Linked DNA regions of Homo sapiens: regions 1, 2 and 3 are each linked to region 4. Evidence: promoter capture Hi-C in 16 types of primary human blood cells and fetal thymus (Javierre and others, 2016). All regions are on one chromosome and are shown on one strand. The core of a region is centred on a gene start or on the middle of the fragment in contact, and the rest is flanking DNA. Distances in the headings are between cores, read along the strand shown. Region 1 overlaps CR2 (complement C3d receptor 2). Region 2 overlaps CR1 (complement C3b/C4b receptor 1 (Knops blood group)). Region 3 holds the start of CR1L (complement C3b/C4b receptor 1 like). Region 4 holds the start of PIGR (polymeric immunoglobulin receptor).

Region 1 (6,829 bases), core at 4,015-6,514, 540 kb before region 4:
CCATAAGCCAATTGAACCTCTTTTGTTTATACATTATCCAGTCTCAGGTATTTCTTTATAGCAATGTGGGAAGAAACTAATACAGAAAATTGGTACCCAGGAGTGGGTCATTGCTATAAAGATACCTGAAAATGCGGCAGCAACTTTGGAATTGGGTAACAGGCAGAGGTTGGAAAAATATGGAGGGCTCAGAAAAATGCTGTGTTCCCATCCAAATCTCATGTCGAATTGTAATCCTCAGTTGTTGGAGGTGGGACCTGGTAGGAGGTGATTGGATCATGAGGGTGGATCCTTCATGAATGGTTTAGCACCATCCCCTTGGTGTTGTTCTAGTGTGTGGCACCTCCCCATTCTCTCCCTTGATCCTGCTTCTGCCATGTAAAACATGCCTGGCTTCCCTCTTCATCTTCTGCCATAATTGTCAGTTTCCTGGGGGCCTCCCCAGAAGCTGAGCAGATGCCAGTATCATGCTTCTCATACAGTCTGCGGAACCATGAGCCAATTAAAACTCTTTTCTTTATAAAGTACTCAGTCTCAGGTATTTCTATATTGCAATGTAAGAACAGACTAATACACAACCTAATGTCTATCGACAGATAAATGGATAAACAAAATGTAAACAAAATTGCATATACACACAATGAATTTCTTCCTTTCCTTAAAAAGGAAAGAAATTCTGACACATGCTACAACATTAATGAACCTTGAGGACATTATGCTAAGTGAAATAAGTCACAAAAGGACAGGTACTGTATGATTCCACTTATATGAGGTACTGAGAGTAGTCAAATTCATTGCGACAGAAAACAGAATGGTGGTTGCCAGGGACTGAAGGGATGGGGGAATGTGGAGTTACTATATAATGGATATAGAATCTTGGTTTTATAAGAGAAAAAGAGTTGTGGAGATCTGCTCTACAACAATGTGAATGTACCTAACTCTACCGAACTGTACCCTTAAAAATGGTGAAGATGGTAAATTTTATGTGTTTTTAATCACAATTTTAAAAAACAGAAAAAAAACAGATGCTGAACAGCATACCTAGTCTAGGGGAAGGTACAGAGTAAATTTGTGGTCACCAGTGAGCAAGGTTTTATTTTCTCAATAGTTTAAATGTTGGAACAGAGAAAATTAACAGCTATATCTATATCAAGGGTGTGGTGGGAGAGGATGAGTGAGCCGGAGAAGGTATTGGCTGGACAAATATAAGAGAAAGTCTTGAGGGTGAGGAAATTGAATTTGTGGGTTAAAAGTTTGGCTAAAACGACCAAGTGATGGGATCCTGAATGAATAACTGTTAAATCGTGGACTTTAAAGCCCTAAGACTCTCTGTTATCGAAGAGTTCATTGACTCCAAAAAAAAACAAAATAAGGCAAGTGTTGTATGTTTTCTTTACAATTACAATTTATTGAATGACTAATGTACACATTATTAAGTGAAATTTTACAAGCAACTAGAACTTATCACAAAACTGCTAAAGAAACATCCAAAGCCTGAATTGTACACCAAATCTCTAGGATTAAATCTTGATTCCCATAATTTAAAAAAACTTGTGCAAATTGCAATCACTGAGTGATTATGGAAAGGCAAAGTATATACAGTAATGTGAGAGAAACTCAAACCAAGTAAGGGTAAAAATGAAATGATTAACACCACCAGAGGAGGAAGCTACTATCAAAATAAAACCATACTTCCTAATAAAGGTAAAGCCATCATAACCCCAGAAAATGCTTCATACTTTAGATAATTAAAAACACATTATAACCAAAAGCAGATAGTAACATTGAGTATGCTGATTTCAAAAAGAAGATGGGTCTAGATACCAGGACAGCTCTTTTTAGTGCCTTCCTTAAAAAGGGCAAAACTTTTTAGAGCCATGTAATTGTTTATAGCCATGGCCTGGCTTCAGGCATCTCATAAGTGAGGCTTCAGAAAGTCCTTGAAGAGTATATGGCAGTGAAACTGGGCTCCCATCTTTACCATAAAGATGTTCTTCTTGAGAATAAGTGCATATAGGAAGTGATCGCTTATGACATCATTTCATTGATCTTGAGGCCATATAAAGAGACTTGCTGATATTAGAGCAGTTTCTTTCTAATCAATATTCCGCTGAATTCCAAGCAATGAGGCACACTGAAATAGATCATTTCTGTTTAGGAGGCAGCATGAATAGCAGCGGTGCAACTCGAAGTTTAAATAATGCTAACATTCTCTTTACATACCAGTTACAGCTGGTATAACCAACAAAGCATCAAGTCTATTAGAAGATATCATTCTATTGAAAGGCCTTTCTTCATATAACATGCTCTGGAACAAATAACTACATTTTATATACATTCATATAAACATGAATTAAACTAAATGAGAAATGAAAGTACTAATCTTTCTCATTCATAAACTCATTCAACAAATATTTATGAGCTAGGTGTACTCTGTACCTCAACTGGTTTGGATTTAGAGGTCACTAGTATGGTCCCCCTGTCAGGACTCACCAGCAGCAGGTTACCTTTTCTTCCTCAACTGCCATCACAGATTTTCTATACCTTGTTTATGGTATGTATTATTACCTATGATATTTATGGGTCTTATTTATCTTATTAAAATAAGTTCCAAGAGGACAGAGGTGGTATATTTTTTATTTTATTTTATTTTGAGATGGAGTCTCGCTCTGTCAGCAGGCTGGAGTGCAGTGGCGTGATCTCAGCTCACTGCAACCTCCAACTCCCTGGTTCAAGCAATTCTCCTGCCTCAGCCTCCCGAGTAGCTGGGATTACAGGCACGTGCCATCAAACCCAGCTAATTTTTGTATTTTTAGTAGAGACGGGGTTTCACCATGTTGGCCAAGATGTTCTCGATCTCCTGAACTCGTGATCTGCCTGCCTTGGCCTCCCAAAGTGCTGGGTTTACAGACGTGAGCCACCACTCCTGGCTGGTATCTTTATTTTCTAGATTATGTAGGAGAAAGCAGTTTAAACTCAGGCATGAGCTTGCATTCCACCTTTGCCAATGATTGACCCTGAGACCTTGCCCAAGGTTTTCTTGGATATTATTTCTTCATCTTGATATTATCTTGGGAGAACACCCACCTTTCAAAGTGGTACTGATGGCTAAGTAAGAGAAGGCATGAAAGACTGTCACATAATCCCCGGACAGAGTAAACCTTCAAATGTTCATCCCCACTTTCTCATGGGAAACTCAGGTGCACATCTCATGTGGCCTGTCGGCCTTTCTGTACTCCCTATAATTCAGTCTTCAGTTCTTAGTTGATGATTTAATGCCTTCCTTTTTCTTCTTAACTCTCTAATACCTCCTTTCTGAGCCTCACTCTCACCTGAATAATTTGCTTTCTATTCACTGAGAAGACTGAATCATCGGAAGAGAACTTCCACACGTTCACTCCCCATCACAGCTCCCAACCTGCCTTCATCTGCACCTGCAGATTCTGCCCTCCCTCCTGTTACTAAGCCCACGCAGCTAGGAGCTCCTCTGCTTAATCTGTTCCTCCTAGCTTACCCAGACCTTGTTCGAGCAATTCTTCTCTCTCTTTCTGCCATCACTCTTTCCCTTTCTACTAAATTATTCCCATCATCATGTAGGAATAGGGCATAACTGCTATTTCTCCAATCTTAAAAAATATTTCTGTTGACTTTATGTTTTACTCTTACTAGCACTTTACTTATTTGCTCCTTTTTATAGAAAAAAACCTAGAAAGAGTTGTCTGTATTTGATAGCTGCAATTTCTCTCCTTTCATTCTCTCTTAAGCTCCGTCCAGTCAGGCTCCTGCCTCCTTCCTCTCTTCAAAAACTGTCTTGTCAAGTTCAGCAGCAAATTTTGTGCTGCTTGCCTATAATCCCAGCTACTCAGGAGACTGAGGCATGAGAATCACTTGAACCTAGGAAGTAGAGGCTGCAGTGAGCTGAGATCACACCACTGCACTCCAGCCTGGGCGACAGAGTGAGACCCTGTCTCAAACAACAACAGCAAAAAAATTGTGCTACTGAATTTCAATGGTCAGTTTTCAGGGCTCATTTTTTTGGCCTACCAGCAACACTGGACAGAGTTGATCACTCCCTCCTCCCTAAAATTCTTTCTTTGCCTGACTTTAAGGTTCTTCTCTGGATAGTATCAGAGGCTGCTCCTTCACTTCTTAGTGGGTGCCTTCTCACTCCATGACTTCTAATGTTGGAGGATCCAGGGCTCAGTACTTGGACCTTTTCTTTTTGCTAGCCTCTTTCACTTCTCGGAGATCTTATTCAGTCTCCTTGTTATGTACAACCACATGATGACAAAGCCCAAATTTTTATCTCCAGCCTGGACCAATTGCCCAAAATACAGACTTGTACATCAGCTGTCTTCTTGCCAAGTCTATTAGACATCCACATTTAACATCTCCACAGTGGAACTCCTGATTTTTCTCCCCAGTCCTGCTCTTTGCAATCTCAATCATGTAATTAATGGCAGTTCTATCCTTCCAGTTGCTTAGGCAAAAGCCCTCGTGTCATTATTGACAGCTCTCTTCCTCTCATATTCTGATACAAACTATCCACGAATCCTACTGTCACTGTCTTAAAATTGCATGCAGAATCTGGCCTCTTCTTACAACCTGGTGGTAGCCACTGACAATTTCTTGCCTGGATGATTGCAGCAGCCTCCTCATTGACTCCCATCTTCCACCCATGGCTTCCTACAGTCTGTTCTTAACACAGCAGTTAAGGTGAATGTGTTGCTCCTCTCCTTAAAAGCTTCCAAATAAAAACCAATCTCTTTACCATGACCTAGCACACTTTATACAATCATCCTCTCCTGCCCACCATCCCATTACAATGACATAGCAGACTTTGTACGATCATCCTCTCGCCCACATCCCACCCCCATCTCTGTGACTTCATCTCTACAACTGTAGGCCACACTGGCCTCCTTGCTGTGCCGCCAACACAGCTGGCACACACTGCCTTATGGCCTTTGCACCTACTGTTCTTTCTGGAATCCTCCTCCCTCATATGGCCACATGGCTGGCTTTTTTTTTTTTTTTTTTTTTTTTTTGAGATGCAGTCTTGCTCTGTTGTCCAGGCTGGGGTACAGTGGCGCAGTCTTGGCTCACTGCAACCTCCGCCTCCTAGGCTCAAGTGATTCTCCTGCCTCAGCCTCCCGAGTAGCTGGGACCACAGGTGCACACCACCACGCTTGGCTAATTTTTGTATTTTTAGTAGAGACAGGGTTTTACCATGTTGAACAGAGTGGTCTCGAACTCTTGACCTCAAATGATCTGCCTGCCTCAGCCTCCCAAAGTGCTGGGATTACAGGCGTGAGCCACCAAGGCCGGCCCTGGCTCTTTACTTCCCTTGAGTTTTTTCTCAAATGACATTCTCTTAGTAAGAGCTTCCCTTGCGACCACCCTGTTCTCTTTATCCCCCTTGCCTGCTTTATTATGTCTCTATATAATGCTTATCATCTTATTGATTTTATTCTTAGTTGTTTTGCTATTTAGTTTAATATTTGTTGAATGGATGAATGGATTAAAAAATTGGAACATTAGTTGGCAAAATGAAGTAGGTAAATGAACAATTGCTATGCATGATTACTGAAGACTTGTGCAATAGTAAGAAGCATGTATATACACCGTGAATGCTACGCTTATTGATAAATACAAGTTGAAGGAAATTTTATATGTAAATTAATAATATTCCATTTCATTACATACCACCAGTTTGTCTTCTGATCAGCTGGCTGGGTTGTATGGATCAACAGAATATACTTCTCGTGCTTCTAAATGAAAAGCTTCTTTCTGGCTTGTATCTGTATAATAATTGCTAAACAGAAGAAGAAAGAAAAATGTAATATCTTTACTCATTGACCATGTTTCAATGTAGCAGTTGTTTGCTTTCCATAATTCCCAACACATGGTAAGTACTTTTGTGGATGATTTCATTTTTTTAAATTATACTTTAAGTTCTGGGATACATGTGCAGAATGTGCAGGTTTGTTACATAGGTATACATGTGCCACGGTGGTTTGCTGCACCCAACAACCCGTCATCTACATTAGGTATTTCTCCTAATACTATCCCTCCCCTAACCCCCAACCCTGTGAAAGGTCCCAGTGTATGATGTTTCCCTCCCTGTGCCCACATGTTCTCATTGTTCAACTTTCATTTACAAGTGAGAACATACGGTGTTTGGTTTTCTGTGATGATTTCATTTTTATTGTTTTTATCCTATGAAGTGTAAACACTGTAACTCCATTTTTTGGAAAGGCACATAAAAAATGAATGATCTAGGCTTGTAAGTGTTCAAGTCAGAGGCTGACACTAAGCAGCTTTACCCTAGGATCCAGGACGCTTAATGACTAACAACTACAACTTCCAAATTGAAGAAAAGAAGCAAAAATAAGTTCTTATTTTAGATCATAACTTTACCCTTTTGGGACTCAATGTTCTAGTCTGACTTAAAAGCTTTAAACGAGTTTGAAGAGAATGTTTTTACTTTCCTTCTTTGAAAGTACACATATTTCATTGTGCTTCTAAAACCACTTTGCCAGAATTACTAAAAGACAATAAAATGTGATTATACTACCATGTAAAGCTCTAAAATAACATAATACAAAATTACTGGGGAAGAAAGAATACTGCTAAAGACACTGACAGCATGTCACTCACTAGAATATTGAAGAGTTCCGTGTACAGGAGATATGTTAAGAAGATTATAAAACAGTAATTTTTAGGTCAATGTGAGATTTAAGCTTTGTTACAATATCTTAGATGACTAGAAAAGAATAGCATAGTGTCTTTCAAGTGTTTAGATGGCTTTTCAAAATATTTAATATTGTCA
Region 2 (7,458 bases), core at 1,617-4,116, 560 kb before region 4:
GTATCACTTACATAGGCAGAGACAGAGAAATTTTAGCAGGATTATATTTTCCATATGGGACCATGCATAGTTACAGCATTTTGATTGGTTACAGATTGCTACATTCCAAGGAAGATTACTTTATTGCTCCCTGAAAAGGGGTAGTGATCTGAGGGGAAGCCCATCCCCTTGGAAATTTAGTAGGAACTTTAAAAAAAAAAAAAACTTTTTACTTTGAGATAATCAGATTCACATGCAGGGAATAGTACAGAGAGATCCCAGGTACTATTTACTCAATTTTCCCCTAATAATAACATTTTGCAAAACAATAGTGCAACATCAACATTAAGATATTGAAACAGTTATAATCCACAGATTTTGTTCAAATTTCCTGTTTTACCTGCACTTATTTGTGTGCGTGTCTGTTTATGCACATATGCCCATGTATTTATGTCTATGCAGTTTTAAAAAATAGACTTTGTGTTTTAGCACAGTTTTTGGTTCACAGCAATAATGAACAGAAGATACAGAGATTTCCTATGTACTCCCTGCCCCTATACATGGATAACCTCCCCTATTATAAACATCTTTCACCAGGGTGGTACGTTTTTCGCAATTGAGGAACCTACACTGACACATCATGGCCACCCCAAGTCCATAGTTTATGTTAGGGTCCACTCTTGGTATTGTACACTATATGACTTCGGATAAATTTATTATGACATGTACCTACTGTTATGGCATCATACAGAGTAGTTTCACTACCCTCAAAATCCTCTGTGCTCTTCCGATTCATCCCCTTCTTCCCTAACCCCTGACAACCACTGATATTTTCACTGTCTCCATAGTTTTGCCTTTTCCAGAATGGCATATAGTTGGAATCATATGTTATGTAGCCTTTTCAGATTGGCTTCTTTCACTTAGTGATGGTGAAAAAAGGTTCACTATTTAAGGTTCCTCTATGTCTCTTCATGGCTTGATAGCTCATTTCTTTTTGGTATTGAATAATATTCTATTGTATGGATGTACCACAGTTTATCCATTCCCTTGCTAAAGGACATCTTGATTGCTTCCAAGTTTTGGCAATTATGAATAAAGCTGTTATAAACATCTGTGTGCAGATTTCTTTTTTTTTTGGTGTGAACATGAGTTTTCAATTCCTTTGGATAAATGCCAAGAAGGATAACTGCTGGATAACATGGTAAGAGTATGTTTAGTTTTATAAAAAACTGCCAAATTATCTTTCCAAGTCATGGTACCATTTTGCATTCCTACCAGCAATGAATGAGAATTGTGTCCCCCTTACCCCGAAATATATTGATGTCTTAATCCCCAGTGCTTATTAATGTGATCTTATTTGGAAATATGGTCTTTGGAGAGGCAATCCAGTTAAGATGAGGTCGTTAGTGTGGGCGCTAATCCATTATGATTGGTGTCCTTATTAAAAGAGAGCACTTTCGACACAGCCATACACAGACAGGAAAACAGCATGTGAGGACACAGACCCAGAGGGAAGACGGCCATGTGAGGACAGAGACAGAAACGGGAGTTCTGCTGCCACACGCCAAGGAAGGCCTGGGGCTCCAGAAGCTGGAAGAAGCAAAGAAGGATCCATCCTTACAGGTTTTAGAGGGGAGCATGGCTCTGCCAACACCTTGATTTTGCACTTTCAGCCTCCGGAACAGAATTTTAAAAACTTCATTTGTGTTAAGCCACCCGTTTTGGAGTACTCTGTTACAGCAGCCCTAGCAAACTACTTGTGCTATGACCGTTAAGATTTCTCTCACACAGTTACTCAATGGCCTTCCCTTTCTTCCAGCAATGTCCCCTCTGCGTTAAGGCTGTTTGTGTGCTTTGACTATACTCTTCCCCCATTTTCTTCCTTCCCACCCAATGAATGCCACACTTTTCATATATGCTCTGCCTTGGTTTCCAGCAAGGATACAGATGATTTTCCCCCGATCTTGTCATACCTTTGCTCATTTCAGTCAGGAGCTAAACATCTGTGTTGAAGCCGTTAAAGAGCAGATGGTAATAGTTTAGTTGTCCTTTCTGACATGTGACTAGAAGGTAGTAAGGCTGTGTTAGAACTCTTGAACCAAGAGATGTTGGTTCAAGAGATGCCAACTCACCCTTTAGTACAAGAATATTTAATTTGGGATCCGAACTGGATGCCTTTGATCACATGCACCATGCCATTCACAGGATCTGGAGGATTACGACATGATTTACCTACAGGAAAGAAACAGAATTTTGGAGCCAAGTAGAGTAAACTAAAAACTTTTTTTAGTACATAAGGTCTCAACCTGCCTGTAGCTTACTGAGGAACACACGCAGTTCTGATGGTTCCACAGATTTTGCTACCTTGAGGAAACTCACCAGACTGCCTCAGGATCAGCTCCCTTTCAAAAAAAACTTTCCTTTCAGATCTGTTTCATCCCCATATTATGCCTCCCAGAAAAATGTAAACTTTGTTATTATCTGTAATTCAATTCAACTGGTATAATCCAAAGATCTCAAAGCCCAAGATTGTCACATCTTTTAGTTATTTAATCCACTTCTCTTTCTTGTCCCAAGTCATTCATTACTTAATTTTAGTCATGAAAATGGGAGACCCCCAGTGAATGGGGATTTTCCCTCAATCATGTCCTGCAATGACTGTTTCTCATGAAATAAACTTTTAATGAAGGCGCCAGGAACTCAAAGCAGTAACAAGGTATGATCTACAAGAATAATTCTCATATGTATTGCACCTTGGCAAACTAATTGTCATATGCAACTCAGTTACAAAATTTGAACAAATTGAATCAGATCTTACAGATGTTTGACTAACAGGGGGGTTCCCACTCCAGAGTTACTTACGTCTGCACCTGTCCTTAGCACCAGTCCAGACTGAGTTTTTTAGGCAGATGATAGAAAACGGTCTTCCGGAATAACCAGGGCGGCATTCATAGTTCAGATATGTCCCAATGGGAAACTCAAATTCATCAGTTAGGTTGGTAGGCCTGGCAAATGGAAGCCATTCTGGGGCATTGCATTGACCTGGAGATCAAGACCATAGAAGCATCAAAGTTAATGGAGAAATTACCATACTTTTTTTTTTCTTTTTTGAGACGGAGACTGGCTCCATCACCCAGGCTGGAGTGCAGTGGCGCTATCTTGGCTCACTGCAACCTCCGCCTCTTGGGTTCAAGCAATTGTCCTTACCTCAGCTTCCTGAGTAGCTGGGATTACAGGTGCCCACCACCACACCTGGCTAATTTTCGTATTTTTAGTAGAGATGGGGTTTTACCATGTTGGCCAGGCTGGTCTCGACTCCTGACCTCAGGTCATCTACCCACTTTGGCCTCCCAAAGTGTTGGGATTACAGGAGTGAGCCACCGTGACCCTGTTGAAATTCCCATTCTACCTTCTCTTTCTCTCCAATATACTTCATAGATGTGATCAAAAAAGAAAAAGAACACTTCAATAATAGCCAAGGGGTGCAGGAGTGGTGGCTCATGCCTGTAATTTCAGCACTTTCAGAGGCCAAGGTGGGTGGATCACTTGAGGTCAGGAGTTTGAGACCAGGCTGGCCAACATGGTGAAACACTGCCTCTCCCAAAATACAAAAAGTTAGCAGAGCATGATTGCACTTGCCTGTACACATGCCTGTGCACAGCTACTTGGGAGGCTGAGGCAGGAGAATTGCTTGAACCCAGGAGGCAGATGTTGCAGTGAGCCAAGACTGTGCCACTGCACTCCAGCCTGGGTGACAGAGCAAGATTCCATCTTAATAAAAATAATAATAGCAAAGGGACTTATTCCTTTACAACAGTAGTCCCTTTTTAGCACCTGGGACTGGTTTTGTGGAAGACAATTTTTCCGTGAATGGAGGGTGCAGGGAAATGGTTTTGAGATGGAACTGTTCCACTCAGATCATCAGTCATTAGATTCTCATAGGGAGCATGCAACCTAGATCCCTCATATGCACAGTTCACAATAGGGTTTCTGCTCCTATGAGAATCTAATGCTGCCACTAATCTGACAGGAGGTGGAGCTCAGGCAGTAATGCTTGGCTGCTCACCTCCTACTGTTCTGCCCATTTCCTAACAGGCCACTGGACAGTATCAGTCTATGGCCCAGGGGTTGAGGACCCCTGCTTTAAAAGATGCCTCAGAAATGGGCTCCTTTTTAAAAAATCAGCATCCATCCATTCAAAAAGTCTCTGCCAGTTTGAAGGCAACTAAGCTATTTATATCATCTTTCACTAAAGGATAAGGTGCATTTCACAGCTTCAAAATTTAGTTAATCAGTAAGTGCCTGTGCTGTGGCTTCCTCTCTCCTATCATCATGTATAATTCTTTCTTGTAACAAGGTCAGTGAATCCAATCTGTTAATATTTATTCAAATCTTCTAGATACTTTACTGATTTTGGGGGGAGTACTTGTCTTACTAGATAATGAGTTGTGTTAAAATATTTTATTTATTGTACATTTGTCTATTTCTTTTTATAATGTTGTCCATCTTTTATTTTATATATTTTGAGGTTATTAGGATTATAAAAATTTAAATTGCTATATTTTATGGTAGAGCAACCTTCTTTATTATAATAAAATATCTCTGCCTCTAGAAATGAATCTTGCCTAAAATTCTACTTTGTTTACTTTATTTGTGGGACAAATAAAACACAAATAACATGGGAGATTTACTCCCCAGTATATAAATGCTTATTTTGAATATACAGTAGTCACCCACTTATCTTTGGGGGACATGTTCCAAGACATTAGCCGATACCCAAAACCTCAGATAGTACCAAACCTGACAGCTGTCAATTAGAACACATTTCTGTTCACCTCTTCCGCCCACAAATTTAATGCCTTTCCCCTCTTAGCTAAGCACTTAGCATGCACTGTGGTTGTAACTTTTGCAGTTTGAAGTGTGACAGCAAAACTAGCACAAATTTATTTTTCCTTCTTCACAATTTCATCGATAGAAGATTCCTTCTTACCTTAGGTCTTAGCAACTTCAACATACAATGTTTTTCTTTCCTTATTAAGTGGACAACTTTCACCTTTTCACTTAAAGGAAGCACTTGCTACTAAACCGGACCCTAATGGTAATGAACTCCCTTATTAGGCTCAGCTAAAATTTTGAGAATCTATATGGAAAGGTGTGGTAGGCTAAGTAAGGACCTCTCAGAGATATCCATGTTCTGATCCCTGAAGCCTGTGATTGTTACCTGTAATGGTTAAAGGGCTTTGCAGATGTGATTAAGAATCTTGAGATGGGCAGATTATCCTGGGTTATCTAGGTGGACCTTAAATGTGATCACAAGGGTCCTTATAAAAGGGAGGCAAGAGGGTGAAAGGAGACAGAAGAAGGATATTCAGAGACACTATGGTGCTGGTTTGGAAGGTAGAGGAAGGAGGCCAAGAGCCAAAGGACGGAAGCAGCCCCTGGAAGCTGGAAAGAGCAAGAAAACCCCTGCTCCCCTGGAGCCTCCACAAGGAACACAGCCCTATGGATCTATTTTAGACGTCAGCCTCCAGAACTGGAAGAGAATACATTTCTGTTGTCTTAAGCCACTAAGTTTGTGGAAATTTGTTACAGCAGCAATAGGAAATTAATACAAAAAGAGAATGGTATATAGTATTAAAAATGTTGGGTTCATAGATTGAATCTTGAACCCAATGTCTTCTACTTAGTGGCTATGAGGTCTTAGGCAAACCGCTTAATCTTGCTGAGCCTCAGTTTCATCTTCATAAAGGGAATAATATTTTCCTACCAGGTTTGCAGGGAGAATCAAAAGTAGTATATGCTGCCACATACACAGAAGGCACTTCATAAATTATACTTACGATTATTACCCTTAGAAAAGGGTAAGGGGACTTCTAAGAGTTAAATTCGATTATTCCGCTAAAGTGGGAGTGCTTGCTTTGCTTCCAAGAGTTCATTTTCTGCTCCTTTGCAGAACTAGCTTGGAATGAGCCTATGCTGTCGGGAATGCACTGGATGACCTCAGTGACTGGTGACCTCAGCTCTCCTGAGTGAATGTGCCCCGGATTCAGCCTGGGACTTCTCATCTGCATCTCATGAGCTCCATCATAGTGCCCACGGGACCCCGGACAGAGAGGAGAATTCCTAAGGTTGCCTTTTCCCTGTTGTCAATGGCTTTAGTCAGAATTGGAAGCCTAACTCTGTGCTTTCTACTGAAGCAAAGGATGATGCTCCAAGAAAGCTCATATTTCTTACTTATTTTTCCCAGACAGCCTGTATCCATCATCACACATTTGCTTTATTAAGCCAGCAGTTGTTAAGCAAGGAAGCCCTTGTCTATGTTCCCTGCCTCATCTTGTGCCACTTGGTCCCCTCACCAAGGTGTGGCCCTTTCCCCTTTTTCAGTTTCCCAAAGACACACATTTTTCCCGTCTATGACATTCCTTCTATGTGACGCAATTTTATCTTCACTCTGACTTCAATTCTTCCTTCAGGCATCTGCTAAAATGTCACTTTCTTATAGAAGCCTTCCCCAGCCTGCCTATGGCCATACCACCCTGAACACACCCAATCTCATCTGAAGCCTTCCCTGACCCTCTTAGGGATTTGGAATCTAAACTACTTCCCTCTGCCCCACCCTATAATAATTTCTAGTCCGACACTTTGCTTTTCCTTTCATATCAATAATTGTTTGTTATTACAATTTGTGCTTTTTATCTTTGTGTGCTTTTAGAAGTATCTATTTCTCTCAATAGATATTAGATATGCATAATTTAAAGGCAAGAGATGATGTGTTTTTTTGTACCTCTAAATTAATACTTAGTCCTGGTGCTTAACACTCAATTATAAGAACTCAATGCATATTTGTTGCAATGAACAAAAAATGAAGAATTACTTATAAAACTCAAAAAAATCAAGAATCCAAGCTATGTCCCCCAAATCTCTGATTTAGTGGGTCTAGGTTAGGGCCCAGGAGTCTATTTTTAAAAATTTTCACAGCTGATTTTGATAGATAACAGCACTTTGAGGATACTGTAAAAAAAAAAAACACTGAGTAAAACAGTTGCTGTTATTTTCAGTGTTATGCATTCACCTTTCCTCTAGTTGATATGTGGGATGAAATACAATTTTGATATTTGTCTTATCCATTGATGCCGGACAAAGGAAGAGATTCCATGTGAAGTGCCTAGCGCCAAAAGCTGTATTGAGAGAGGGTAAATGTCACAGCAAAGCTTGCAACGAGAGGAAGGAATGAGACCTAAAGTAACAAAGCAAATTGAATGAACCATTCTTGGAAAGAAGTTCCTTCCCCTTAATTACATAATATTCTTACCTGCATAGTAGTATATGAATAGTATAGGTAATTATAAAAAGCAAAGTTGTATAATAGCTCAAAAAAGGAATATATGAGCCTTCAACAAAGAAAGCTTGATGTAGTTTCCTTTCTCTCCTTTATTACCAATCCCTCAATTGTGACTAGTTCCTATGACAAATATATTA
Region 3 (7,019 bases), core at 1,130-3,629, 700 kb before region 4:
ATTCTGATGGGGAGAGACAGAGAACAGAAAAGATCACTTTAAAAGGGTGATTACAAGAGGTACTTGAACTGGGTTGTATGTGTTCAACCTGAGTTGGGGGGTTCCAAGAAGGTCTCTGAAGCGGTAACATTCCAGCTGAGCTTGCAGAAGAAACAGCCCATTTATGCAGCAGGTCATGGGGAGAACGTTCCAGGACTGAGGGAACAGAAAGCACAGATGCCCCAAAGTGGCAGAGTTTTGTCTGTTTGATGAGAAGCAAAGCCTTCCCTCCCCCCAGTCATTTGTTAAATGCTGTCAGAAAATTATACTCCTTTCCTCCAGAACACTTCCCTGGTTAATATATTTGTTACTATTATGTTTTGGTTAATGTCTGCCACTCCCAATACATTTTAGCAAACATCTGTTGATTGCCTACTGTGTTCCCGGCATTAAGCACTTAACAATGAGCAAAAAAAGTCCCTGCTTATCTTCCTGCATGTACGTGTGTGTAAACAAATAGTAAAAAAAGGATAAAGAAAATAGGAATTGTCTGTTATTACCTACTAGTGTAACAGCACCAGACATACAAGACCCATATTTGTTGAATGAATGTTCCTAAGAGAAGAAATGCAACGTACAATCTGTACATGGAATAAGATCCTAAATATAATTTGGACATAGATACACATGAAACACAATAAAGTCAGAAGGAAATATAACAAAATATTAAAAACAGTTGTCCTTTTATTTTGTTCATTTTGCACAATAAGCCTGTATTTAAGCATGTATTTTTTGGCTTTTTTTTTTTTTTTTTTTTTTTTTGAGACAGGGTCTCACACTGTCATCCAGGCTGGAGTGCAGTGGCATGATCACAGCTCACTGCAGTCTTCTCCTCCTGGGCTCAAGCGATCCTCCCACCTCAGCCTCTGGAGTAGTTGGGACCACGGGCATACACCACCATGCCCATCTAATTTTTTTATTTTTTGTAGACATGGGGTTTTGACATGTTGTCCAGGCTGATCTTGAACTCCTGGGCTTAAGCAATCACCCAACTTGGGCCTCCCAAAGTGCTGGGATCACAGGTGTGAGCAACTGGGCCTGGCCTAGCATGCATTTTTAAAAATATTGATTCCATTCAATGAAATACAAAACAGTGGGATAGGCCTTAAGCTTCAGTTTATGAGCTGTAGGGGAAAACAAGATTAACATTATCTGCCTTCCTTTGTTAGGATACTAATTTCTCACTAGGTTTGGCTACCAGTGTTTTTTAGGTTGCTTCACATCTCTCAAATATGACTCAAACTAATGAAAAGAAGGAAAACAATGTCAAAAAGCCACTAGGCAATGGAATCAGATACTGTCTATATTGGTTGGGAACAGGAAGATGACTCGATGGCCCACCCACCCCCCAAAAAAGCAGCCACTTAAAATTCAAGACCAATACGATCTCAGGCAACACGGACACTGTTCACAGAAGGCACTAAAAGCATGGTGCGCCCTTACCACCTCTCTAACCCCAGGCACTGAGAGCCTGCTCTCACTCAACATGCCCTCCCTAGCCGCAGAGTCCGCGCTCGCTCCACTCAAAGCAAACAGTGAGCTGTCTTGCCCACAGTGAACTCCGCACACAGGCCACTTGCGCACAGCACGCTCCCAGCAACACCTGGCCAGGCCCCTGCTCGCCCAGCCCAGCCCAGGCCAGCCCAGCCCATGGGGCACAGCAGACGCACTGCAACCCTTACCGCGGGTACTGTCCAAGCCCTAATGAACACCCTACTCACCAAGGCACCAAGGGAACACAGGGCAAACTCTCACCACGGGCACAGCACGGGCTCTAGCAACAATCCCACGCACCTGTGCACTCCAGAGCAAGCCCTCACCTGGGGCGCCCAGTAAGCCCTCCCCTTGCTGACTGGGCTCAATCCCGAAAACACGATTCACGCTTCTTTTGGGAACGCAGCCAGATCCTGCGTAAATGTCGGCCGCGCACACGATGCCACCAAACAAGCTTCTGCGTGGTTCCCGCATCCCCCGCCACATACCCCCGGGATCTGAGCACGGCACCCCTCGGAGAACCCTGGCCTCGCTCTCTATCCCAAGCAGGCACGACGTGCAGTGAGCTTCGCCCCGCGCCTCCTGCCCGACTGACTGAGCAGAGCTCTAGCCTCGCCGCGGACGCGCGAATCCACCCCGGGGTCCTACCGGAGAAGGAGGACAGCAGCAACACCAGGGCCGCCAGAAGCAACCCAGGAAAGCGCCGGGAAGGAAAGGGACGCTCGAGACGGACGGGAGGCGCCATGAGCGGCGCGGGAGACCCCGTGATTTATCCGGAGGTGAGCAGAGAAACCGAAAGCCAGCCGAGCAGGGAAGTCCCTTCTGAGTCCGGTTAGTGGACACAACAATCCCCAAACTCACAGTTTCCAGGGCCGCATGACAGGTGGGCGTGGCCTGGGCGCGTAGTGTGAAATTGAGTCTTAGCGCCGGGGCGGCTGGGGCCAATCGGCGGGCCGCGGGGCGGGGCCTCGGCGCGCAGGGGCAGCCCGTTGGCCTTCGAGGAGACAGGGCGTGTCCAGAGCCCTGGCAGGGGGTTATCGTGGGCTAGCACCCCTCAGGGTTAGTTTTATCCTGGGGCACTGCAGGCTGTCAGGACTGCCTGGGCCCTTACTTGGTATTTGGCATTAGTCAGGCATTATTGGGAACAATATTTGAGTTTTTCTTGCTTGAATGCCTGCTACTGAATCGTCTCGGCGCCGTCTTCTTTTCACAGTCTCAAAGGTTTGGCTTCTGCACTCCCAGCCCCTAAGATAATTTGCCCTTTGCTCCCCTCCCTGGAGAGGACCCGTCAGAATCTAAATTATTAAGCAACACCAGGCCGTTAGCATATTGAGACTCTATGGGACCCTTGCCCTTGAGCAACTAAATGTTTTATTGAAGACGAAATATACATGCATGAACAATGTAAGGACAAGGGTGTCCTAAGTGCCAAATTCCTGGAAGCAATAAATGCAGGAGGATTGGGATGGGTAGAAATTGTTAGGCGAAGTGGATAAGGGGGAGAACTTTTCTGGTGAAACAATCTCAGGAACAATGTTGGAAAATTAAGAATGAGCAGGATTGATTTGTAGGGTTCTGAGTAAGCCAGTATGACTGGTAAAAGGGGGAAAAAAAAAGGGAACATGACTGGCATTAAAAGAGCAAACAAAAAAAGTTGACATCTCTTCCCCTCAGATTGGCAAAGAATTAAAACGTCAGCCAATGTGAGTGAACATGTTGCAGGGGGACCAGCACTCTGTTTGTAACATAACTTTTCAGAATGTTAAAAGTCTTAAAGTGGAAATGACTTGTGTTAGGCTCTCAGTTCCCAGAGAAATCATCAGAGCTGTGATCAAAGATTTATAATTTTTGTAAAAAATGTAAACCCTAAGTGTCTAGCAAAAGTAATAAGGAGGCAGTTACCTTTGTGTGATGGAATTCTATGCAGCAAGTATTGCAAAAGAATACCAAATGTGAGAAACTATGATATCATTGTAAGTGGAAAAAGCAGAGTCCAAATTGGCATGTGCATTTTGGCAGTCCTTTTATTAAAACAAAAATGCTATATATATATATATATATATACATACACTAATTTGGAACACAACAAAATTAACAATGGTTAAGATTATAGATATTTCACTTTCCTTGTGCTTTTCAGTTTTCTTTTTCTATGTTGACCCTATGTTACATTTAGAATAAGGTAAAGAAAATGTATTTTAAAAATCAAATCTATGTATCAATTGTTGTTTTGTTCATAGAATTATGGGAGTAGAACTTGTATTACACAGGGTTTGTATGAGAGGATAGTGAGGAATTAGATGCTTAGTGTATAAACCTAAAATGGGTCTTATGGAATTATAGAGTTTAAATGTATTTAATACAGTTCTATAACTGAGATGTACTGAAGACTTTCTGGGTTCACCAAACCACGGAATTTCCTCTTCCCAAACATTTTCAAATTTTTGGCATAGAATACAAGACATTGAGTCTGGTGGTATATCAAATAAACATCTTAGTATCTTGGATTATAAAATTCAGACACTCTATGACAGTAATTAAAGGAGGTATAATTAAGGGGATAGTAAATAGGAAACTCAATGAGGAGAAATTATTATTCCTGTTAATGTATGGTGTGAAAGAGCAATATGACAGACATGTTCTGTGGCTCAATGCCAGCACTTATTTGTGAAAGCAGATAGTCTATTTATTTTTCTCCACATCAATAGATATTAAAAATTCTCCATTTATTTTCAGGCTTGGAAGAAAGATACCTTTTTCTCATGAGAAAAATTATTATAAAGAATAGAAGAAAAAATATGGCTAGTGTTTGATTTCCTAGTTTCAGGTGTCAGATTAGATTCAAAGATCGGTATTTTATTGAAACTTTCTTTCAATCAGTAAAATTTCCATCCCTGGGGTTAATCAAGCCATTCTTAATATACTCGAAGACTTTCACATTAAATTTATAAAACTAATTTTTATTTGAGTTAACTGAAGCTTCATTTGAATGGTTCTGAGCCTTGTTTCCTATTTTTTGGGATAAGTTCCATAAGTCAGGGTTAGAGCTTTCTTATAATATCTCCAGTGCCAAAATCTGTAGTAAGTGTACAATGAATAGCTGGTAAATATTGGATGAAATAAATGGTTCTTGTGGTCAAGTGCATTTAACATATCTCTGCCAGTTCTCCTCCAGCATGAATTTATTAAATGTCCAGAAATTTCTGAGAGATTTTGATTTAAATAATTTTAGACCCTAGGAAACAAATCGAGATCGGTCTGTAAAATGGATGAGCTACAACTGTCTGCACAGCAAACTTTCCTAAATCAGGTGTTGCAAGCTTACTTGTGAAGTGGAGCTGTGGTCTATCCCTTAGCCTTGAGGTCATTTTAGTGACTGAGTTCAATGTCGACAATGAACTTCCTGAGGCCTTAACGGGTAGAACTTGAAGCCAAAGCTTTGAATGAAGTTGATTTAGGAAATTAATGTTTCCTCCAATTCCCCCTAAAGATTTTGTCAAACTGCCAAAGAGAAGAAAAGGAGAGAATGAGGATATCTGTGTTTGTGGACCCGGTTTAGAACTATGGGATCTCCTTTAAGGGGCTTATGAAGGGCAGTATGGGTGGAGGCTGGTGTGCAGGGATGTCATTAAACTGTGGCCAACTCTTTTAAAATTTGATGTTAGGGCTGGGCGCGGTGGCTCATGCCTGTAATCCCAGCACTTTGGGAGGCCGAGGTGGGCAGATCACGAGGTCAGGAGATCTAGACCATCCTGGCCAACATGGTGAAACCCCGTCTGTACTAAAATACAAAAAATTAGCTGGGCGTGGTGGCGCACACCTGTAGTCCCAGCTACTCAGGAGGCTGAGGCAGGGGAATTGCTTGAACCTGGGAGGCGGAGGTTGCAGTGAGTCAAGATTGCGCCACTGCACTCCAGCCTGGTGACAGAGCAAGACTTTATCTCAAAAAAAAAAAAAAAAAAAAAAAAGAACCATGTTAGATGGTTCTTTGCCTCCTAATTAGTATACTGTATTTACATTATGCTTTTCAGGAGCAAGTGGAGCAGCATGAATGGGCCTCTATTTACACCTGCTAAGCACCTGCCAGCCAACTGACCTTTATGTTTAGCTGTGTCTGATTTTCTTTCCTGTTACTATCAAGAGCATGTCTGTGGCATTACACATCAACACAGGGATTATGAAAACAATCAGGTACAGAACTATATTCCATAAGTAGATTTGCAAAATAAAGTATTTTATTCCTTTCTCATTACAATGGTAGAGACAGAAAATTTCATTAAAGCATCATAAACTTCATAGTACACACTTAAGTGTGCCAAAAAAGCAAACAAAACAAAGAATGTTAGGACTAGCAATAGCTTCATAGGGCAATTGGTGTCCAGCCCCTGCTTTTCAGATGAAAATGTAAGGTCACAGGTTAGCAGAATTGCTTAATAATACAAGTTAGGCAATATAGTATTTTACTCATAGTTAGTATATACAGTATTTATCATTATAACTGATATAATAGAAAAAAACCTTTCAGCTTTCTTGCAATTAAAAAGTGACAGGTGAGGTTGCAGTAAGCCTAGATAGCACCACTGCACTCCAGCCTGGGTAACAGAGCAAGACCCTGTCTCCAAAATAAATCAAAAGTCACAGACATTGAAATATTTATTAATCACATTGCTCACTGACCTACTCCATTCTGGAAAAAAAAAAGAACACAGGATTTTTTTTTCTTGTAATGGGAAATTTTAATTCTAAAAAGGCCAATTCCCAATCACTTAGTTTCTAGTCCTCCTTTAAAAATTACTTCTTCAAAATCCCAAGAAATAAAAGAGATTTGCTAAAGATTCAACTAAGCAAAAGTCCTATCAAGTATCTTTACATATACTCACCACCTATTTGCCCTTCTTTCTTGGTGACCTAGCTGTATGTCCTTTGCCCATTTTTGTTGGGTGGAGAGAAGTTTGGTCTTTAATTTTTAAGTACTCTCTAAATAATAAAGCAATTAGCTTTTGTGATGTAAGTTGCATTTTTTTCTTGCAGTTTATCAGTTGATTTTTCTTAAGCTGGTTTTTTTTCCCTCTCTTCCATGATTTTAAATTGAAATTCAGGTTCATGTCTATCTCACTCCTTATACTGCTGTCAAAGTAAATGTGGCAAAATTCACCTTTAAAGCAACTATTAAACAGAATTACATAGAAATGAGCATTAGTCATATATAAAGCTATTATTAAATATCCAGAAATATTCTGATGTTTTCTAGAGGTCATTAGCATGGCCCATAATATCATAACACATTTTTGTTCTCTAAAGATGTGGACTGGTTAAAGAACACAAGGTCACTTATTTTAAAAATATCAGAACACGTTTATTATTTTGATACATTTTTTAAAAGTTGTGTTTTAAAAAGTTAATTTAGTATATTCTGAATCCATACAAAAGTAAGCTAGTACTTTTATAATAACAATTATTCTTTCATTTCAATTTTTATTATGTTT
Region 4 (6,978 bases), core at 3,667-6,166:
GTCAACCCATGGTTGTGGAGCATCAAGCTAAAGACAGCCTGAAGGGTTGGATTTGTGTGAGCCTGTGGGCTTGGTCATCTGCAATATTCTCTGGCTAAACCAAGGGTGTAAACGGACGTCCCTTGCTGTCTGTAGAAATATCATCCAAAAAATTCATCCTGACAGCAAAAGTTTTGGGAAGTGGAGGAAAATGCTTTCTAGAAAACCTTGGTTCTAGACCCATCTGTGTGATGACCTCCTGTGCAAACTGGAGCAAGTCATTTCACTTTTCTGTTCTTGGTCCTTCATCATTCAGTGGAGAATCACTCTAGTTACGCCATCATGTTCTGGTACATGCTCCTAGTAGTCTCCAAAACTGTCTTAGCAGACAGTGCCAGACACGTATGCATGTACACACACACACTTGCCTTTTGCTGTCCCGTTTATTTGCTGCTGAATCATAAGCGCCTATTAGATGCTAGTCACTGAACATATTATAGCTAATCTTTTTTTAGATTTTTATTTTGGGGAGATAGGGTCTTGTTCTGTCACCCAGGCCAGAGTGCAATGGTGCAATCATAGCTCATTTCAGACTGCAACTCCTGGATTCAAGCAATCCTCCCACCTCAGCCTCCCAAGTAGCTGGGACTACAGGGGTGTGCCACCACCCTGGCTAATTTTTTTGTTTTTGTAGAGACTGGGTCTTGCTATGTGGCCCAGGCTAGTCTCCAACTCCTGACCCCAAGTGATCCTCCCACCTTGGCCTCCCAAAGTGCTGGGACTAGAGGTGTGAACCACTGAACCTGGCCTATACTTAATCTTTATAACATACCTATACAGTAAGTATAATTTTCCCCAGAGACATTAAATAATTTGTTCAAGGTTCCCTGGCTGGCAGGTGGTAAGGCTTGGATGTGAACCCAGGGCGTCGAGGTCCAGAGCCCCTGCTCTTTTCCCAAGGCTACACAGGCTCTCTATGCTTGCTACCTCCTGGCTTGTGTTGTTCCTTGACAGTATTGCATGTGAGTGATGACTTCTCAATTGGACTACTTGCCCTTGTGGAACAGGGGTGCACTCTCCTGCATGTCTCAAATCTCCCTGGACCTTGAGCTTGTCATGGTTGGTAGGCCGAGAAATAACCACCATCCCTCTTCCCCAAGGTTTGTCTATGTCTCAATCTCTGGAGCCCAGAAGTGTGACCTTATTTGGAAAAGAGTCTTTGTAGATGTGATGAAGTTCAGGATCTTGAGATGAGGACATCATCTTGGATTAGCTGGGTGGGCCCTAAATACCATCCATATAACAGAGAAACAGAGAGTTATTTGAGACATACACAGAAGCCAATGTGACTATGAAGGCAGAGGTTGGAGTGACACAGCTACGTGCCAAAGAACACCAAAGAATGTCAGCAGCAACCAGAAGCTAGAAGAGGCAAGCAACGGATTATCGTCTAGAGCCTGGAGGGTGGCCCTGCTGGCACCTTGATTTCAGGCTTCTGGTCTCCAGAACAGAAAGAGCATACATTTCTGTTTTCTTAAGCCACTAAAGTTGTGTTAATTTGTTATAGCAGCTGTCAGAAACTAATACGGTGCTCAACCAAAACACAGAATCCTAGAACTGAAAGAGCCTTGGGAACAATTTGGCACTGTCCTCTGATGGAACAAACAATCCTGCAGACCTACAGGATGAAGTGATCTGGCAAAGGTCACTCGGCAATTAGAGGCAGAATCAGGAACAAAACAAAGGTGTTCCACAGTGACTTATGCTGAGTCCCAGAGTCAGGAAAGTCCAGTGAGAAGCTGTTCTTCTGCTGGTATATTTTCTTGTATGATTACTTTAAAAGAAGCAGGGAGGGTTGAGCAGATGAAGTGTTGTAAGTTTGGAAAGTATAATCACTGCTGTTATCATCATTATTATTGATTTGGGCAATGGACTCTCTTGGCCTGTCCCTCCTCCCCCAGGGCTGAGAAATAGTACTATTTTAGGGCCACTGGGTTCCAGATGGGGAAACCACAGTGCGAGAGGGGAAGCAAGTGAGTCCAATCACACCACCGGCGTGTGGCTGAGCCCAGAATAGGACGTAGGATTTTTGACTCCCTGCCTCTTCCCAGGGCTCTACTTCTCATTTTCCCCTTTCTGTAAACTGGATCAGTAGGATCAGTGGGCTCCAGGTATGTGGGGTGTGTGTGTGTGTATGTGTATGTGTGTGTGTCTGACATGGGTCAGCTAAGACAGTTTTGGAGACTATTGAAAACATGCAGCAGGACATGATCTAGTAAATTACCCACCATCATGAAATAGCAAAGCAGGGAAGGAAATCTGCAACCTGTCCTCCACGCCCACCAAGGCAGCATGAGAAGAAATGATTTAATGAGTGTTCTCCCCTTCCTCCCTGCAAGCCTTTGCTCGTCAAATTTCTGCACTAGTGTTCTGTGAACCTGCCTTGACTTCTACTCCAGCCTGGACAACTGGACACAACTTATTTCTTGCTTTGGGAAGGAAGAAACAAACCCTACAAATATTTTGACTATTGAGTTCAAATGGAGAGAGGTATAAATCGGGAATCCTTTGAAAGGAGCTATAATCTGACAGAACCAGGCTTGTCTCATCTCTGCACCTGCATATCTTGTCTCCCCTCGCATCCTCCTGCTAGACATTAACCCCAGAACTGGGGAGGAGAAAGACTGCTGAAGAGTAAAAAGGAGAGCTTAGTTACTGATGTGTCTTGGTGCCCTCCCACCCACCACCATGGGGCAGAGTCCAGGCTACAGTAGGGGAGAGGGGATTAACAATGATAGAGATATCCAGGTGGGCTTGAAAACTCCAGATTGAGGGGCCCTCACCTTCGCCCATCCTGTAGAGAACTTTGGTGGTCCACAGTCTTGCTGATATCCATTGTACCCCCAATTATATGGGAACACTGGCACACAGGAGGTTACAAGAGTGTTGGGGGAAAATGTGACTCTGCTGCACAGGATCTCCCAAAGGCCTCAGGAGTCTGTGATCAGCCAAACTCACCCTGCACCCACAAGGTGGGCAAGGAGAGGCTGAGGGCCTGGAAGACCCACCCCAGGGAGCTCAGTGTATGGACTAGGAGGGCACAGTGTGGACCACAGAACCCTCAGGATGAGCAGGGACAAAGCCCACTGACCAAGCAGGGGAAGTCACATCTCAGTAGACAAAACTATTTCCTTCTGGAGCCCAAGGCCAGCACAGCATCGTGACAAAGCAAGACCAAAATAATAATGGGCCACCCCTTTTCACTGCCTCAGCAGTAACATTGACCACCCCCTCACCCAAGACCGCTCTCTCCAGACTGGACCCCAGGGGAGAGAAGGGAGACAAAAAGGAAGGGAACTCCATAATGAGGCTAAATTTTAAATCTGGAGTGAAGTGACTGAGAGATCACTGAATTGGGCTGAGCTTGCCTAGAAGTGACTAGGTAACTTGTTTTCTTTTATCAGTCAGATTATGGGTTTAGGGTTTGAAATTAAGCTACATCTGGAAGCCATCATCCTCATCAAACTAACACAGGAACAGAAAACCAAACACCACATGTTCTCACTCATAAATGGGAGCTGAACAATGAGAACACACGGACACAGGGAGGGGAACATTACACATCCGGGCCTGTTGGGGGGGGTGGGGGGAGGGAGAGCATTAGAACTAATAGCTAATGCATGTGGGGCTTAATACCTAGGTGGTGGGTTGACGGGTGCAGGAAACCATCATGGCACACGTTTACCTGTGTCACAAACCTGCACGTTCTGCACATGTAATCCTGGAACCTAAAACAAAATAAAAAAAGAAAATCTAAGTTTGCAAACCACAAAAAAAGAGAGAAATTAAGCTACATAAAGAAATTATGGGGTTTTTTTGCTTGCCATTGAAATCTGTGATTGTGTGTTAACACCCACAAGTGAGCCAGTGGTTAGCTAAAATAAGACCCAGGGCTCTGGCTGCCTTGTGTTTCTCCAGGGCTCTATTTCTCTATTTTTCCTTCCCCTTCTGGTGTTTGGCCTATAGGACTCTGTAGGGAGAGCCTGGGTCAGCCCTGCACAGGTAGGATGGGCAGCATTTCTGTGGGGGTTTGCAGTGAGGGGTCGGGGGGCCATACACGTGTGTGTTGGGGAGTGGGCTTCACTTTTGTCACAGGACTGCCACGATCATTTGGGGAACACCTGGGAGTCCCAACCAGGTCATGTTTTGGCATGGACTAACAGATAGGGAAGGAGGTGCTACTTCAGCTCAGCAGGTCAGCACCGTCCTTGCTATGGAGCCGAGCCCGGGTCCTAACAAGACTCTGAGGTCAGCCATGTTCAGGGGAGCCCAGAAGCAGCGAGTCTTTCATGACTCTGGGGAGTGAAACAGGAAGGGCCACAGTCCTGCCAGTTCCTGGAGCTCTGGGACTGGTAAAAGGGGCTTGGCAGGAGGTGTATAAGGGGCATTTTTGTCCAGGCTAAGTAACCTAGGGAGTCGGAGGGGATTCCAGAGCAACTGGGGATATGAGACCAAGGACTACGACAGCCACTCCTGCCACCTGTGCCCCATCAGATGATGTCAACTTCAAATCAAGCATTGGGCCAGGTATTTTAGAGCTAATACCGGGCTATATCCTCTACCTGTAGATTTGGTATTACCATCCCTCTTTTCCAGATGAAAAGAAATAGGAAGGTGACTTGCCAAAGGTCTTGCAGCTAGAAAGCGACAGAACAGCATCTTCACGCTTGACATTCTGTCCCTCATCCTGAAGCTGCAACGATGGAGGATTCCCAAGTAACAGAGTCTCCCCAAGGTCAAAGGAAACCAAATGGAGCCAGCCAGGAAGGCCAAAATGAAAGGAAAGCAAGGGATCTGTGAGAGTCACATGACCCTGGCTGGCCACGGTGCCTGTGGGAGAGTGGCCCTTTAAGAGCCCAGGTGTGGGTCAAACACTGAGCAGAGTTTCAGTTTTGGCAGCAGCGTCCAGTGCCCTGCCAGTAGCTCCTAGAGAGGCAGGGGTTACCAACTGGCCAGCAGGCTGTGTCCCTGAAGTCAGATCAACGGGAGAGAAGGAAGTGGCTAAAAGTAAGTGTTACTGCTCTGGGATCCCCAGACGGGATGCTATCTGGAAAGGGCTCGGGACGATGGCTCAGGTAACCCCCTCCATTCCCAACTCCCAGTCTCCTAGATAGTGGGGTGACAAGGACAAGGAGGCAGACTGTGTGACTGTGTGTGGCTGGGGAGTAAGCGTGCATATCGCAGTGGGACGAGTAGGGATGCACGTGTGTGGAAGCCCCCCATCCTTTTCTGAGAAATATCAGCAGGTGGGAAGGGACCTCTGTGGTCAGCATATGTAATTCTACTCTTTCAGCTTGGTCTGTGCCTGGATTTCCTAACTCCTCATAGTTGATTAACTGTGTGGCCTTAGACAAGCCACCTAACCTCTCTGATCCTCAGTTTCTTAATCTGTAAAACAAAGATAGAAATAACACCTATCATTCAGGGTCAATGTGGGTTCAAATGAGAAAACACAGGTGAAATAGCTTTGTAACCTCTAGAATGAAATAGGAATTGTTTCATATTTTTCAGTTTAGTTTAATTAATCAAGGATTTATTGAACACCAACAGACCTGGAATTAGATAGTGCGCATAAAGTATGGCACCTAGCAAGTCCTCTTCCATTCTTTGAGGTTTCCCACTTGTGGCTTTCTGGCAAAGGCATGTTCAGCTCCTTTTTTCTGGGCTTCCAAGAACCTCTGAAATCCTTTGCAATTCCACCTCGCTTTGCTCTAGCAGATTCCTGCCATGGGAGACATAAATGTGTGTCATCGCATCATCCTGCCCTTCCTAGAGGTAGAAAAAAAGAGGTCCTCACGGGATCACTGAGTGAGGTGGAGCTGAGCCCCACAGGCAGCATGATCAACTCCTGCTGTTCCTCCTGGCTCTGCAGCCAGCAGATCTCAGACATGGGCTTCCCCTCCCTTTGCCCATCCTGACAGCAGCCCAAGCCAGCAGTGGGACCGTCCGGCACAAGGGCAGCAGCGGGTCAAGCTCCATCCCTGACCCCCAGTTCCCTTTGTGCAATTGCCACAGTGCCTGGGGCCATTGAAGCTGCTCCTATTTTGTGCCATCACTTTCCCCCTTCACTAGGGGAATTATAGATCCTTTAACATCTGGAGAGGAGATGCCAATTTCAGGGGTTTAGGTAGAAGGCAGCTGTCTGGTGCCTGGACATAGGTCTTCCCAGAGCCAGATCTGGAATTCTCTCTCCATCCTTGTCCCGCCCCTGGATGTGCTAAAGTAGCAGAAAGAACACTGAGCCAGGAGTCAGGAAAGCAACTCTCTCTGCTTATCTCCTAGTGCCGCTAGACCTCTGTGGCTTTAGGTGATAAAAAATGGGGTCACACAGGCTTCCATTTAGTAAACCCACTTGCCCTGGGCTTTCACACCTTCGTCTCATTCTCCCTTGATACCAACGAGGAGGTAGGCAGGGTTGGTTTTGTGATGTCATTCCCTAGTTGAGGAAACCAAGACACCGTGAGTCTATGTGAGTGGTGTGAAGTCACCAGCAAGTTTGAACGATGAGGTTTTGGTACAGCCATTTTGATATGGTCATGAGGACATTTTGATGTCACCTAAAAAGCAAACTATCCAACTTAAAAAAAAATACCTATGCATTGTGCTCAGCAGAGACCTTCATCTATGTCTTGCCCTCTCTCTGGAGGGGCTGGGGCTGGAGTCCCAATGTCACTGGCATCGACACAGTATGGTGGAGTGGAAAGAGGCTTTGGCGTCAACATGCCTGGTTATACCCATGGTTATGTAACATATCCTACACATGGTAGGTGCTAAATAAATAGCAGCTAATATTTTCCAGGAAGAAATTTCTCTGTTGGCACCTACCTCTGGGTCCAGGTGTCTCTTCATTTTTTAATTTTTTATTTTTTTGAGATGGAATCTTGCCCTGTCACCCAGGCTGGAATGCAGTGGCGTGATCTTGGCTTACTGCAACCTCCA

The links. Contacts are between HindIII fragments. The CHiCAGO score rates a contact against its expected background, and 5 or more counts as called.
Region 1: a contact is called between a fragment that was not itself captured here and the fragment with the promoter of PIGR in region 4, in 2 of 17 cell types (endothelial precursors and erythroblasts). The highest score is 7.3, in endothelial precursors.
Region 2: a fragment that was not itself captured here is called in contact with the fragment with the promoter of PIGR in region 4 in 1 of 17 cell types (neutrophils); the score reaches 7.6 in neutrophils.
Region 3: a contact is called between the fragment with the promoter of CR1L here and the fragment with the promoter of PIGR in region 4, in 7 of 17 cell types (neutrophils, naive CD8 T cells, erythroblasts and 4 more). The highest score is 15.1, in neutrophils.

Annotation. Positions count from the first base shown.
Region 1 is chr1:207,484,447-207,491,275 of GRCh38, reverse strand. It overlaps CR2 (complement C3d receptor 2), which reads right to left. Exons shown (of 20, transcript NM_001006658.3): 19 at 5,704-5,812; 20 at 1,384-2,134. The coding sequence ends at 5,722. Among named protein-coding and RNA genes, the nearest start is that of CR1, 8.3 kb to the left of the region's middle. The HindIII fragment of the contact is 1,036 bases long and covers 4,747-5,782 here.
Region 2 is chr1:207,501,467-207,508,924 of GRCh38, reverse strand. It overlaps CR1 (complement C3b/C4b receptor 1 (Knops blood group)), which reads right to left. Exons shown (of 47, transcript NM_000651.6): 2 at 2,842-3,021; 3 at 2,112-2,211. Among named protein-coding and RNA genes, the nearest start is that of CR1, 9.0 kb to the right of the region's middle. The HindIII fragment of the contact is 8,653 bases long and covers 1-7,192 here.
Region 3 is chr1:207,640,493-207,647,511 of GRCh38, reverse strand. It overlaps CR1L (complement C3b/C4b receptor 1 like), which reads right to left and starts at 2,379. Exons shown (of 12, transcript NM_175710.2): 1 at 2,182-2,379. The coding sequence starts at 2,278. CR1 (complement C3b/C4b receptor 1 (Knops blood group)) reads right to left here. Exons shown (of 47, transcript NM_000651.6): 47 at 5,747-7,019. It also overlaps the pseudogene CD46P1. RefSeq lists an enhancer at 2,270-2,349 and a silencer at 2,410-2,579. The HindIII fragment of the contact is 2,525 bases long and covers 1,990-4,514 here.
Region 4 is chr1:206,944,404-206,951,381 of GRCh38, reverse strand. PIGR (polymeric immunoglobulin receptor) reads left to right here and starts at 4,916. Exons shown (of 11, transcript NM_002644.4): 1 at 4,916-5,046. The HindIII fragment of the contact is 20,587 bases long and covers 1-6,978 here.